Regions from separate parts of the Homo sapiens genome. Here regions 1, 3 and 4 are each linked to region 2. Evidence: promoter capture Hi-C in human tissues and cell types (Jung and others, 2019). All regions are on one chromosome and are shown on one strand. Each heading gives the region's core, a stretch centred on a gene start or on the middle of the fragment in contact. The rest is flanking DNA. Distances are from core to core; before and after follow the strand shown. Region 1 overlaps CELF1 (CUGBP Elav-like family member 1). Region 2 holds the start of RAPSN (receptor associated protein of the synapse). Region 3 overlaps CELF1 (CUGBP Elav-like family member 1). Region 4 holds the start of PTPMT1 (protein tyrosine phosphatase mitochondrial 1).

Region 1 (2,969 bases), core at 24-2,523, 87 kb before region 2:
CCAAAAAAAAAAAAAAAAAAAATTTGTATGGTAAAAACCTTGTGGAGCTCTGATCTTGAAACTTCGTAATTTTTATTGCCTGAACAGTCAGAAGGCTCCTAGACAACTCTGATTTTGGCTCAGTTTTCAGTAGCTCCAAAGAATAAGAAAAGGATAATCTGATATTGCTGGCAGTCTGCACTCTTGCCTTTCTGGGCCAAGACATGCTTTTCCAAATAAAATCAAGGAAATAGTAAACCACTAGTAAAAATGAATAAAGCATCCAAGAGTTTGCCTCCTGTCATGTCCTGTTTTCTCCTTTTTGTTTCTAGGCTGTTTGATATTAAACTCATGTGCCAAAACTATACTGTGGACTTGTCCTTCCTACTTCCCCTTTCAAGCTGATGGGAAATAATTATGGAAAGACATTATGTTTATTATATATTCATTGTTTTTATTGCGTGCTATTTCTGTTTAATAGTCTCTGCATACATTTACAAGTGCAATTTTTATTTTTTATTATTATTTTTTGAAATGGAGTCTCACTCTGTCACGCAGGCTGGAGTGCAGTGGTGTGTTCTCAGCTCTGCAGCCCCCGCTTCCCAGGTTCAAGTAACTGCCTCAGCCTTCTGAGTAGCTGGGATTACAGGTGTGCACCACCACGCCCAGGTAATTTTTGTATTTTTTTTAGTAGTGACGGGTTTTCGCCATGTTGGCTAGGCTGACCTCCAACTCCACCTGACCTCAGGTAATCTGCTCACCTTGGCCTCCCAAAGTGCTGAGATTACAGGCATGAGCCACCACACCCGGCCTACAAATGCAGTTTTTTAAAAAGCTTTGCAAACCTCTTTACTGAGCTAATTTGGGTTATAGATAGCATTGGGAAACTATCTATCAGTCTGTCTATCTATCTATCTATTTATTTATGACAATCTCGCCTTGTCGCCCACGATGGAGTACAGTGGTGCAATGTTGGCTCACTGCAACCTCCGCCTCCCGGGTTCAAGTAATTCTCGTGCCTCAGTCTCCAGAAGAGCTACTACAGGCCGTTGGCACCATGCCCAGCTAATTTTTCTATTTTTAGTAGAGATGAGATTTTGCCATGTTGGCTAGGCTGGTCTCAAACTCTTGGCCTCAAGTGATTCACCTGCCTCAGCCTCCCAAAGTGCTGGGATTGCAGGCTTGAGCCACCATGCTGGCCAGAAACTATTTAAAAACAAACTCTTGGGCTGGGTGCAGTGGCTCATGCCTATAATCCCAGCACCTTGGGAGGCTGAGGCGGGCGGATCACAAGGTCAGGAGATCAAGACCATCCTGGCTAACACAGTGAAACCCTGTCTGTACTAAAAACAGAAAAAATTAGCTGGGCACGGTGGCACACGCCTGTAATCCCAGCTACTTGGGAGGCTGAGGCAGGAGGCTCGCTTGAACCCAGGAGGTGGAGATTGCAGTGAGCCGAGATTGCACCACTGCACTTCAGCCTGGGCGACAGAGCAAGACCCTATCTCAAGAAAAAAACAAAAACAAAAAAACTTGTGGGCATGCTACAGGAAAGCTTAGGTGAGTAAATATAGCAAAACAAGACATGATTTATTTTTTTTTTTTTTTTGAGATGGGGTTTCGCTCTTGTTGCCCAGGCTGGAGTGCAGTGGTGCAACCTTGGCTCACTGCAACCTCCACCTCCCCGGGTTCAAGCGATTCTCCTGCCTCAGCCTCCTGAGTAGCTGGGATTACAGGCATGCCCCACCATGCCCGGCTAATTTTCTATTTTTAGTAGAGACGGAGTTTCTCCATGTTGGTCAGGCTGGTCTCGAACTCCTGAACTCAACTGATCCGCCTGCCTCGGCCTCCCAAAGTGCTGGGATTACAGGTGTGAGCCATCTCGCCCAGCCCAAGACATAATATGTTTGTGGAGTATCTTAATAACTATTGCCTACGGTAGTTAATGGTATATCTTATCTCCATAGAACCATTTTTTTTTTCTTTTGGTTTGTGAATTTGTTGTATGAATTGGTTCTGAGTTTGGTTTTCAACACATTTAAATGGAATTTATATTTAGGTTTCAGTAGTTATTAGTGTGAGGGATACTCTTGAAATTTGTGCCAGGTACTTTTCTGGCTCAAACTATTATGGATCAGGCGTAGGGTAGCTGAAGTTCTAGATTATTACTGTGAAATCAAGTGCTGTTTTTGTTAATGTTCATTTGTCTGGTATAAGTTTGCTCTGGGGCTAAGCTAGATCTATGGAAAGACTTAACCCTTTTCCAGAAAGCTTCCAACTTAGGGAAAAAAATTTTTTTTTTTCTAATTCTGACTGTTCCACTTCTGAAAAAAACAGATCCACAGATCAGACTTGTAAATGATCTGTTTTCTTAAGATATCTTCTAACAGAATGGGTCTCCAGGGAACTGAGTGACAACACACATTTAGCTGGGAGTGGCAGTTCATCTCCCTAAACGTAATTTAACATCACATTTATCTACACACTACAGTTTTGGAGGCATACTTGGAGATTGAACTTATACTTCTCTTGGCTTATTTTATTTTATTTTATTTATTTTTGAGATGGAGTCTCGCTCTGTCGCCTAGGCTGGAGTGCAGTGGTGCGATCTCTGCATACTGCAAGCTCCACCTCCTGGGTTCACACCATTCTCCTGCCTCAGCCTCCCGAGTAGCTGGGACTACAGTTGCCCACCACCACGCCCGGCTAATTTTTTGTATGTTTTTAGTAGAGACAGGGTTTCACCATGTTAGCCAGGATGGTCTCGGTCTCCTTACCTTGTGATCTGTCTGCCTTGGCCTCCCAGAGTGCTGGGATTACAGGCATGAGCCATGGCGCCCGGCCAGCTTTATTTTTATAATTTTGTGTCTGATATATTTCTAACATAATTGTGTAGAGAAGCTGAGATTTCTTGAACTTTGGAAAACATTGAAATCTTGATAGAAAAAATACTAAATATGGCCAGGCGCCGTGGCTCATGCCTGTAATCC
Region 2 (2,975 bases), core at 476-2,975:
TGAAACCCCGTCTCTACTAAATACAAAAACTTAGCCAGGCGTGGTGGCATACACCTGTCATCCCAGCTACTTGGGAGGCTGAGGCAGGAGAATTGCTTGAACCCGGGAGGTAGAAGTCTCAGTGAGCTGAGATTGTGCCACTGCACTCCAGCCTATGCAACAAGAGCAAAACTCCGTCTCAAAAATAATTTTTAAAAATAAAAATTTATTGTTTATTTATTTTTTGAGACAAGGTCTTGCTCTGGTGCTCAGGCTGGAGTGCAGTGGCACAATCACGGCTCACTGAAACCTCCACCTCCAGGAGTTCAAGACCAGCCTGGGCAACATGGTGAAACCCATCTCTACAAAAACTAGACAGCTGTGGTCTCAGCTACCCAGGAGACTGAGGTGGGAGGGTCACTTGAGCCTAGGAGGTAGAGGTTGCAGTGAGCTGTGACTGCACCACTGCACTCCAGCCTAGGTGACAGAGTGAGACCCTGTCTCAAAAAAAAGGGGGGGGGGATACCAGTCTTAACTGGATGAGGTACAATGTGACTTCATTTTACCTTAATCACCCTTTAAAGACCCTGTCTCCAAAGACAGTCACCTTATGAGATACTGAGTGTTAGGACTTAAACATATGCGTTTGGTTGCGGGGGGACATGATTCAGTCATATCAAGGTGGGGAATGGAGTGGTGTAACTGCTGATGGGTGTGCGTCTCCTTTTTGGGGTGGTTAAAATGTTCTGGAATTAGTGGCAATTAATGTGCATCTCTGTGAATATACTAAAAACCACTGAATTGCCCAGCCAGAAAGGATAAACTTTTGCCCTGGGGCAGGAAGAAGGCTGGCATGCAGAGAGAGGAGAAAGGGGGGCTGGATGAGCTGGCCTGCTAGCGGGGGCCCCAATACTACATAAGACCTTGCCCTTCTCCACAGTATCTGGTGTTAAATCTCATTATGAGGACCCTTTCAGCCCGGGGTTGGGATTGGAAGTGAGACATTGAAACTTCAAGGGCTGGGTTCTGGCCCGGGTGGGGATTTGCCATGGAGCAAAATAGCCTCTTGCAGCACATGCGGGGTTTCCTGTGCCGGGCACTGTCCTAAGTCCTTCTCAACTCTTTCGTCATTGAGTTCTCATAGCAGTCCAGTGAGCCAGGTACCATTCCTCTCTTCAGTCCACGGTGCCAGGTCACTTGGCTAGGGTCCCACTGAGAGTTCGAAGGAAGCCAGGCTAGAGCTCAGGCCTCTCACCAGCTGGAGGTCTTTCCCAGACTCTCTAAGGTGAGAGTTGGTGAATGGTGTCAGCCTGGGCCTGGATGAGTGACCCACGGTGCTCAGTGAATTTCAGGAACAGAGCCAGGGGATGCTGCGGTCAGGGGTGTCTTGATGGGGAAGAAGCAGGGCTGGGCGCTCACCTGGCTTCCCCGGACCTGCAGGTCCAGCCTCGCTCTCCTTCCCCCGAGCACCTCTAGCCCAAGGCCTGCCCACTTGCTGGAGCTGGCCCCTTGGCAAGGCTGCTGGGAGGGCCCGTGCTGCCAGGGCGGTCAGGGTCAGTGTCAGAGGTGCCTAAGGGACGCCCAAGGGGGTGCCCAGGTGGCAAGGTGCCTGTATGCTCAGGGAAGCCACGTCCCAGCTCGCGGGTGGGTGCAGCAGAGGCCCACGTGACCTTGCTGCTGACATTCCTCAGAGGCCATGTGGCCCCAACTGGCAGCGACAGCTGCAGACGGGCTGAACCAGCTTTGTTCCCAGGGTGGCGCCTGCTCTCCATCCAGGCCCCATTCCGGCTCCCACCCGACGCTGCTTTTGTTCCCACGTTTCGGGGGGCAGCTGGCACTGTGATTCCTGCCCCATGAGTGCCTAGAGGCACGGAGCCACCAGGGATCACCCCACGTGGGACACAGGGCTTGGGGAGGATGGGGCAGGACCAGACCAAGCAGCAGATCGAGAAGGGGCTCCAGCTGTACCAGTCCAACCAGACAGAGAAGGCATTGCAGGTGTGGACAAAGGTGCTGGAGAAGAGCTCGGACCTCATGGGGCGCTTCCGCGTGCTGGGCTGCCTGGTCACAGCCCACTCGGAGATGGGCCGCTACAAGGAGATGCTGAAGGTGGGTGTACCCGGCCTGGGGGCGTTCGAGGGTCAGGCTGGGGCCGGATGTCTCCCAGGCTCCCCAGTCCCCTCTCGGCCTCCTCGGGCTCCCCTGTGTCCCACAGGCTGGCAGCCAGGGCCCGAGGCTCTGAATTTATATCTAAGGCCCTGGGTCTTAGATACTGAGTCTTGGCATCAGATTCAGGCCTGTGGCCTTGAACTGTGGTGCCCGAGTCTCTGAGACTGAGGTTCTCCAGCCTCAGGGTCGAGGGTTTGTGGGTCTCAAGCCCATTGTAGGTTTCAGCCTTCCTGTCTGGTGTTCTGTGTCTGAGCCTGGCGGGGTGTGGGCTCCAGGGTTGCGGCTGGGGGTGGGTGGGTGGTGGAGACTCCAGATCTGAGGCTTGGGATAGAAGGTGAAGGCTGCAAGCCTGAGCTTGGGAGGTGAGGCTGGGGTGTAGGGAAGGTAGCTGAGGCTGGCGGGTAGAAGCTCTGGGTCTGAAAAGAAGCTTTGGGATCTGCTGCTTTGGGTGTGAGGCTGGGGGGTGGGTGTGGGGCCTCCAGGTCTGAGCCTGCAGTGCAGGCTGGGGTCCAAGGCTCAGAGTCCAGGCTGAGCACCACCTGCCCACCGTCGCTGTGTGCAGTTCGCTGTGGTCCAGATCGACACGGCCCGGGAGCTGGAGGATGCCGACTTCCTCCTGGAGAGCTACCTGAACCTGGCACGCAGCAACGAGAAGCTGTGCGAGTTTCACAAGACCATCTCCTACTGCAAGACCTGCCTTGGGCTGCCTGGTACCAGGGCAGGTGCCCAGCTCGGAGGCCAGGTCAGCCTGAGCATGGGCAATGCCTTCCTGGGCCTCAGCGTCTTCCAGAAGGCCCTGGAGAGCTTCGAGAAGGCCCTGCGCTATG
Region 3 (3,121 bases), core at 133-2,632, 69 kb before region 2:
GTCGCCCAGGCTGGAATGCAGTGGCACGATCTCAGCTCACTAAAAGCTGCGCCTCCTGGGTTCATGCCATTCTCCTGCCTCAGCCTCCCGAGTAGCGGGGACTACAGGCGCCCACGACCACGCCCAGCTAATTTTTATTTTCAGTAGGGGTTTCACCGTGTTAGCCAGGATGGTCTCGATCTCCTGACCTTGTGATCCACCCGCCTTGGCCTCCCAAAGTGCAAGTGCTGGGATTATAGGCGTGAGCCACCACGCCCGGCGAGAAGCACCTTTAGGAGCACAATTGCAGAGTGATGAAAGCATGATAATTGAAGTACCTTATTTATTTATTTATTTATTTATTTATTTATTTATTTATTTATTTAGAGATGGAGTCTCGCTCTGTCACACAGGCTGGAGTGCAGTGGTGTGATCTCAGCTCACTGCAACCTGTGCCTCCCTGTTCAAGTGATTCTTCTGCCCCAGCCTCCCAAGTAACTGGGATTACAGGTTCCCGCCTCCACGCCGGGCTAATTTGTTTGTATTTGTAGTAGAGATGGGGTTTCACCCCGTTGGCCAGGCTGGTCTCGAACTCTGACCTCAAGTGATCCACCTGCCTCGGCCTCCCAAAATGCTGGGATTACAGGCCAGCCAAAGTAACTTTTTTTAAAAAGTGATAATAGAATAGAATAGAATTTGTCTTAGGGCTGTGCGTCCTTTAGGGTGAATCAAGCTTTGCTGAACATGTTCCCTGATTGGCTGAAGCAGAGGTACAAAATTTGCATTTTCTGGCCTATAACCTAACTGTCTCAGGAAGTGTCTCTACAGAAGTAGTTTCTGGTTTCTCTAGTTTTATAGAATTAAGAATTTAAGAACAGAAAGAAAATAAAGTTTCCTGCTTTTCAACAGAACAGGGCAAAGCTCCTGAAACAAGACCATATGGAAGCATCCCGCATGAGTGCCCGTGTGTTTGATGGTGAGGTTGGGGCAGATGGTAAAGGCAGGGTTCTTGGCTGCTTGGTCAAGGATTTTGGAGATGATAGAAGTTAGGTGGCTAGTGCTAAGGAAAGACTGTTGTATGTTGTGTGTATTGGGCCTGTCTGCCTAAGAGGTGGAGCAGCCTCACAGAGAGGAAGGAAATTGATGTGTTTGGTAGGGTAGAGGTGGTAAGATAAGAAAAGAGGCAGGGGAGATGCAGAGTTGGAATGATAAAGCTTGCAATTGCATCTAAACCTGCCCCTGAGATAAGGGAGAGAGAGACAAGATATTACAGTGTGAGAAATAAGATTCCAGTTCCCTGGTGTCTTCTGTTCTCTAGAGCCTTCAAGTAAGATACTGCAGGGACTGTAGGGTTTTTCTGTTTAAACTTGAAGCTCTTTTGATTCCTTTTTGAGATACAAGCCAAAAGCTGTATTTATAGAACTTGTTTTGACATATTATCTCACCCTGTCCCTTGCCTTCTTTACTGGAATCCAGCTAATGTTGCACTTTGCCTTGGCAGGAAAGGTTGATTGAAGAAAATGTATAGCTATACAGCTGAGTGATTGAAATAGCTTCAGACTTTGTAAATAGGCCATACATGATGAGGTCCCAGCTGCATGAACGTTATTTGAGTTGCTGGGGTCATTTAAAATGGTGTGATGTAATTATGATATACTGCTGGATCACCTGGACAATGGCAGTTTCCACACAGAAGTTTCAGGCAAAGCAGGAAAAAAATACAAAACCAAAATGCTGTTTTGGAAAAGAGTATGAGTTGAGGTTTTTCTTTACTTTGTGCTTTATAGTTCCACGAGTTTTCCTTTTTTTAAGTGGTAGGAATGGACTTATGGGTTGCAGGGGGAAGTGGACAAGGGGATACGGTGTCTGCAGGCTAGGTTGCCATGCTCCAAAAGCTCAAGTTTTCTTTAAAAAAATTTTCAGTAGGCCGGGCACAGTGGCTCGTGCCTGTAATCCTAGCACTTCAGGTCGATCACCTAAGGTCAGGAGTTCGAGACCAGCTTGGCCAACATGGTGAAACCCCATCTCTACTAAAAATACAAAAAAGTAGCTGGGTTTGGTGGCAGGTGCCTGTAATCCCAGCTGCTCGGGAGGCTGAGGCAGTAGAATTGCTTGAACCCGGGAGGCGGAGGTTGCAGTGAGCCAATATTGCGCCATTGTACTCTAGCCTGGGCAACAAGAGCATAACTTCGTCTCAAAAAAAAAAAAATTTCTGTAGAATAGGTAACGTGTTCACATGTAAACAATTCAACCACTGTTCCACCTCTACAACTACTGTTAGCAGTTATTTCTTTATCCATCCAGAGATACTCTGTTCATATACAAGCCATGTGTAATTCCTTTCTTATTATATGAATACGTCTTGATCAGTTAGCTGCCTTATTTTCTTTAATAGCTACATAGTGTTCTGTTGTATGGTTATACTGTATTTAATAGCCTTCAATTAATGGGCATATGTTTTCAGGTTTTGCTGATGTAAACAATGTTCTTATGAATGCCCCTTTGCATACTTTGTATACATCAGATACAAGATTATTTGTAAACTATATTTCTAGAACTGGGATTGCTGAATTCAAAGGGCATGTCTTTTTTTTTTTTTTTTTTTCTCTGTTTGTTTTTTTAGACAGGCTCTCTCTCAGTTGTCCAGGCTGGAGTGCAGTGGCATGATCACAGTTCACTGCAGCCCGACCTCCTGGGCTCAAGTGATTCTCCCGCCTCAGCTTCCCAAGTAACTGGGACTACAGGCACGTGCCACCACACCCAGCTAATTTTTGAATTTTTTTGTAGAGATAAGTCTCACTATATTGCCTGGGCTGGTCTGGAACTTGTGGGCTCAAGCAGTCCTCCCAAAGTGCTGAGATTATAAGTGTGAGCCACTGTGCTCAGCTCAGTTTTCAATATTGATGAGATACTATCCCTTTTTATATTTTGCAAGTGATATTATCCATTGAAAAATACTAGTGAGCTGGGCGTGGTGGCTCATGTCTGTAATCCCAGCACTTGGGGACACTGAGGCAAGTGGATCACCTGAGGTCAGGAGTTCAAAACCAGCCTGGCCAACATGATGAAACCTTGTCTCTACTAAAAAAATATAAAAATTAGCCAGGCTTGGTGGCTTGGGCCTGTAGTCCCAGCTACTGGG
Region 4 (2,902 bases), core at 381-2,880, 120 kb before region 2:
GGTTTCACCATTTTGGCCAGGCTGATCTCAAACTCCTGACCTCAGGTGATCCACCCACCTCAGCCTCCCAAAGTGCTGGGATTACAGGTGTGAGAGCCACCACGCCTGGCCAAGTCACAAATATTTTCAAGGTTTCAAAAAAATCCTCAGGTTGAAATAATAGTATCTTCATCATGCTATATCAGTAAAACAAATGAGAAAGATAATTGTTTAGTGCTATTAGATGCCAAACGCTATAAAGATAGGGCAACATTAAAAAAAAATCAAATAGCTCAGATTGTAGATAACATCTTCTAATAACCATTGTGGAAGATTCCACAAACAGGCCAGTCACATTTAATGAAAGTTATGTTTTAGGCCTAAACTTTGTTATGAGAGAACTTTGGAGTTCCACCATGATTTCTAATATATGACTAAAAATTCCCCCAAATCAGAGCCAAATGAACTCTACAGTTTTCAATGGATAGTTTTATGAAAAATCTGGGGAGGGGAGAGTGTTAAGGGGGTGCTTTTCGTCTTACAGTTGGCAGGGCCTTCATCTGGAATCCCTAACACTGGGAATGCTGACCCATACTCAGAGCTCAAAGTATAGAAAGAATGAATGAAATCAGGAAGGCATGGGAAAGTTGCCTTTCAATTTTAGTTTCTGATTTTGGTTACCGAAATAAGAATACATTACATTTGTTCACAAAGGAGAAATCAGGCTTTGTCAACTTCCACTTTTTTTTTTTTTTTTTTTGAGACATTGTTTCACTCCTGTCGCCCAAGGCTGGGCTGGAATGCAATGGCGAGATGTCGGCTCACTGCAACCTCCACCTCCCGGGCTAAAGTGATTCTCCTGCCTTAGCCTCCCAAGTAGCTGGGAGTACAGGCGCACGCCACCACTCCCGGCTACTTTTTGTATTTTTGTAGGGACGGGGGCCTCGCCATGTTGCCCAGGCTGGTCAGGAACTCCTGGGCTCAAGTGATCTGCCCGCCTCCTCCTCCCGCCTCCCAAAGTGCTGGGATTACAGGCGTGAGTCCCCGCGCCCGGCCCAACTTGAACTTTTAAATAAACGCCTTTCACAGCTTCTAGCCTACCTCCAGGTGCCATTTAGAGGCACAGACCGGAGGCAAAGCAGCTTGAGACACCTGGCTCCGGTGCATGGTGACCTCCCCCACACTTCTCTAGCCGTCCCAGGCTCAGGGCGGTGGGCGAGGGGGAGCGGGCCCCCGAGCCTGCCCCTCGGCCCGGTCCCTCACCTGTGAAGAGTTGCACAGGAACCTCGTCTCGTACTCCTCGTTCATGGTGATCACCCCGCGCACGTTCTCGTCCTGTACCAGCTGCCGAGGCAAAGAGGTGGCTCAGCAAAGACGGTGGAGACCCCAGCGGCCCGACAGGGACGGAGCGGCGGGGACGGGGCAGGGGCCCGGGCTCCCCGGCCCGGCTCACCTGGCGCGTCAAGCTCCGCAACGGCAGCGCGCCCAGCAGCACGGTGGGGTCGATGCGGTGGTACCAGTCCCGGTGCGCCCGACCCGGCACCTTCCCGCGGAACAGGGTGTAGAGCAGCGTCGGGTAGAAGAGCACCCGCGCCAGGCCGGCCTCCAGCAGCGCGGTGGCCGCCATCCCGGCCCGGCGCAGCGGCGACCCGTCGGCCCCCGCGCTCGCGGTCCGGACCCGCGAGAAGAGCAGGCGGGTGCCGGGGCGGGGCTGCCAGCTGCACTAGGCCTCTCGCGGGCTCGCACCGGGTGACGGCGGGGACTGGCCTGGACTCTGGGGGACTGGCGGGACTCTGGAGGAGGGCCCGGCGGCCTCGGAGGAGGGACCGAGGTTTCCTGGGCGGGAAACTGGGACCCCGGCGAAGGGAGAGCGCGTCGCAGGCCAGACACGTGTGAGCCCTGTAGCGTGGGAAACTGAGGCCCCCGCCTGTGGCCGGTGACCTCCCTCCTCCGAGGGAGGGGGGTTGTGACCCCAGGTGAGAGGGGCAGGAAGGACCCCTGCGTGTGGAACTGTGACTCCGGCCGAGGGAGGAGGGGACACTCCCCCCAACCCTCGACCAGAGGAAGGGGGCAGTGACCCAGGTGCGGGTGTGACCCCGCCAAAGGGAAGACAAGACAAGGAGAGGCTGTGTGGCGGGGTAGCCCTGAAGAGGACAGTGGAAGGGCTTAGAGCTTTCAAACAGAGGAGCTACCTGGGTGAGGGCCTGATCCCAGGGTGAACAGGGGTCCTGGGTTGAGGTCGCCTTCCTCCTCCCCTCCCCTGTCCTAGGGCAGGGCTCCCTCCTTCATCTGACCAAACAGCAGTGTTTACATAGCAGGAAAAAATAGGAAAATATACATTATATTAATATATCCTTAAGAAAAATATTATGAAGAGCTCAAATATAAAACCTGCAACCTACAAAAAGGTAAGAAGAATGGTTGTAATGCCAGCTATTTACTTTTTGTTTGTTTGTTTTGAGACGGAGTCTCACTCTGTTGCCCAGGCTAGAGGGCAGTCGCAAGATCTCAGCTCACTGCAACCTCCGCCTCCCGGGTTCAAACGATTCTCCTGCCTCAGCCTCCTGAGTAGCTGGGATTACAGGTGCATGCCACCACACCCAGCTAACTTTTGTTTTTAGTAGAGACGAGGTTTCACCTTGTCAGCCAGGCTGGTCTCGAACCTAAGGTGATCCGCCCACCTCAGCCTCCCAAAGTGCTGGCATTACAGGCATGAGCCACTGCACCCGGCCCAAGCATCTGGTGGAGTTTTTGTTTTTTGTTTTTTGTTTTTGAGACAGAGTTTCACTATTGTCACCCAAGCTGCAGTGCAATGGCGTGATCTCAGCACACTGCAACCTCTGCCTCCCAGGTTCAAGCAATTCTCCTGCCTCAGCCTCCCGAGTAGCTGGGATTACAGGTACATGTCACCACGCCCAGCTAA

The links. The method cuts DNA at HindIII sites, captures the fragments that hold promoters and counts their contacts. A contact is called where the count stands out against the background at its distance.
Region 1: a fragment that was not itself captured here is called in contact with the fragment with the promoter of RAPSN in region 2 in 2 of the 25 tissues and cell types used here (dorsolateral prefrontal cortex and mesenchymal stem cells).
Region 3: a contact is called between a fragment that was not itself captured here and the fragment with the promoter of RAPSN in region 2, in 2 of the 25 tissues and cell types used here (bladder and liver).
Region 4: a contact is called between the fragment with the promoter of PTPMT1 here and the fragment with the promoter of RAPSN in region 2, in 1 of the 25 tissues and cell types used here (mesenchymal stem cells).

The regions. Positions count from the first base shown.
Region 1 is chr11:47,534,299-47,537,267 of GRCh38, reverse strand. The region is part of intron 1 of CELF1 (CUGBP Elav-like family member 1); the gene reads left to right. Among named protein-coding and RNA genes, the nearest start is that of CELF1, 17 kb to the left of the region's middle. The HindIII fragment of the contact is 4,129 bases long and covers 1-2,969 here.
Region 2 is chr11:47,447,886-47,450,860 of GRCh38, reverse strand. It overlaps RAPSN (receptor associated protein of the synapse), which reads left to right and starts at 1,725. Exons shown (of 8, transcript NM_005055.5): 1 at 1,725-2,088; 2 at 2,711-2,975. The coding sequence starts at 1,897. The HindIII fragment of the contact is 7,804 bases long and covers 1-2,975 here.
Region 3 is chr11:47,516,724-47,519,844 of GRCh38, reverse strand. All of the region lies in intron 1 of CELF1 (CUGBP Elav-like family member 1), which reads left to right. Among named protein-coding and RNA genes, the nearest start is that of CELF1, 35 kb to the left of the region's middle. The HindIII fragment of the contact is 3,912 bases long and covers 1-3,121 here.
Region 4 is chr11:47,564,327-47,567,228 of GRCh38, reverse strand. PTPMT1 (protein tyrosine phosphatase mitochondrial 1) reads right to left here and starts at 1,630. Exons shown (of 4, transcript NM_175732.3): 1 at 1,433-1,630; 2 at 1,243-1,323. The coding sequence starts at 1,606. It also overlaps a transcript of CELF1 not described here. RefSeq lists silencers at 1,119-1,198, 1,329-1,808 and enhancers at 1,118-1,618, 1,619-2,119. The HindIII fragment of the contact is 19,699 bases long and covers 1-2,902 here.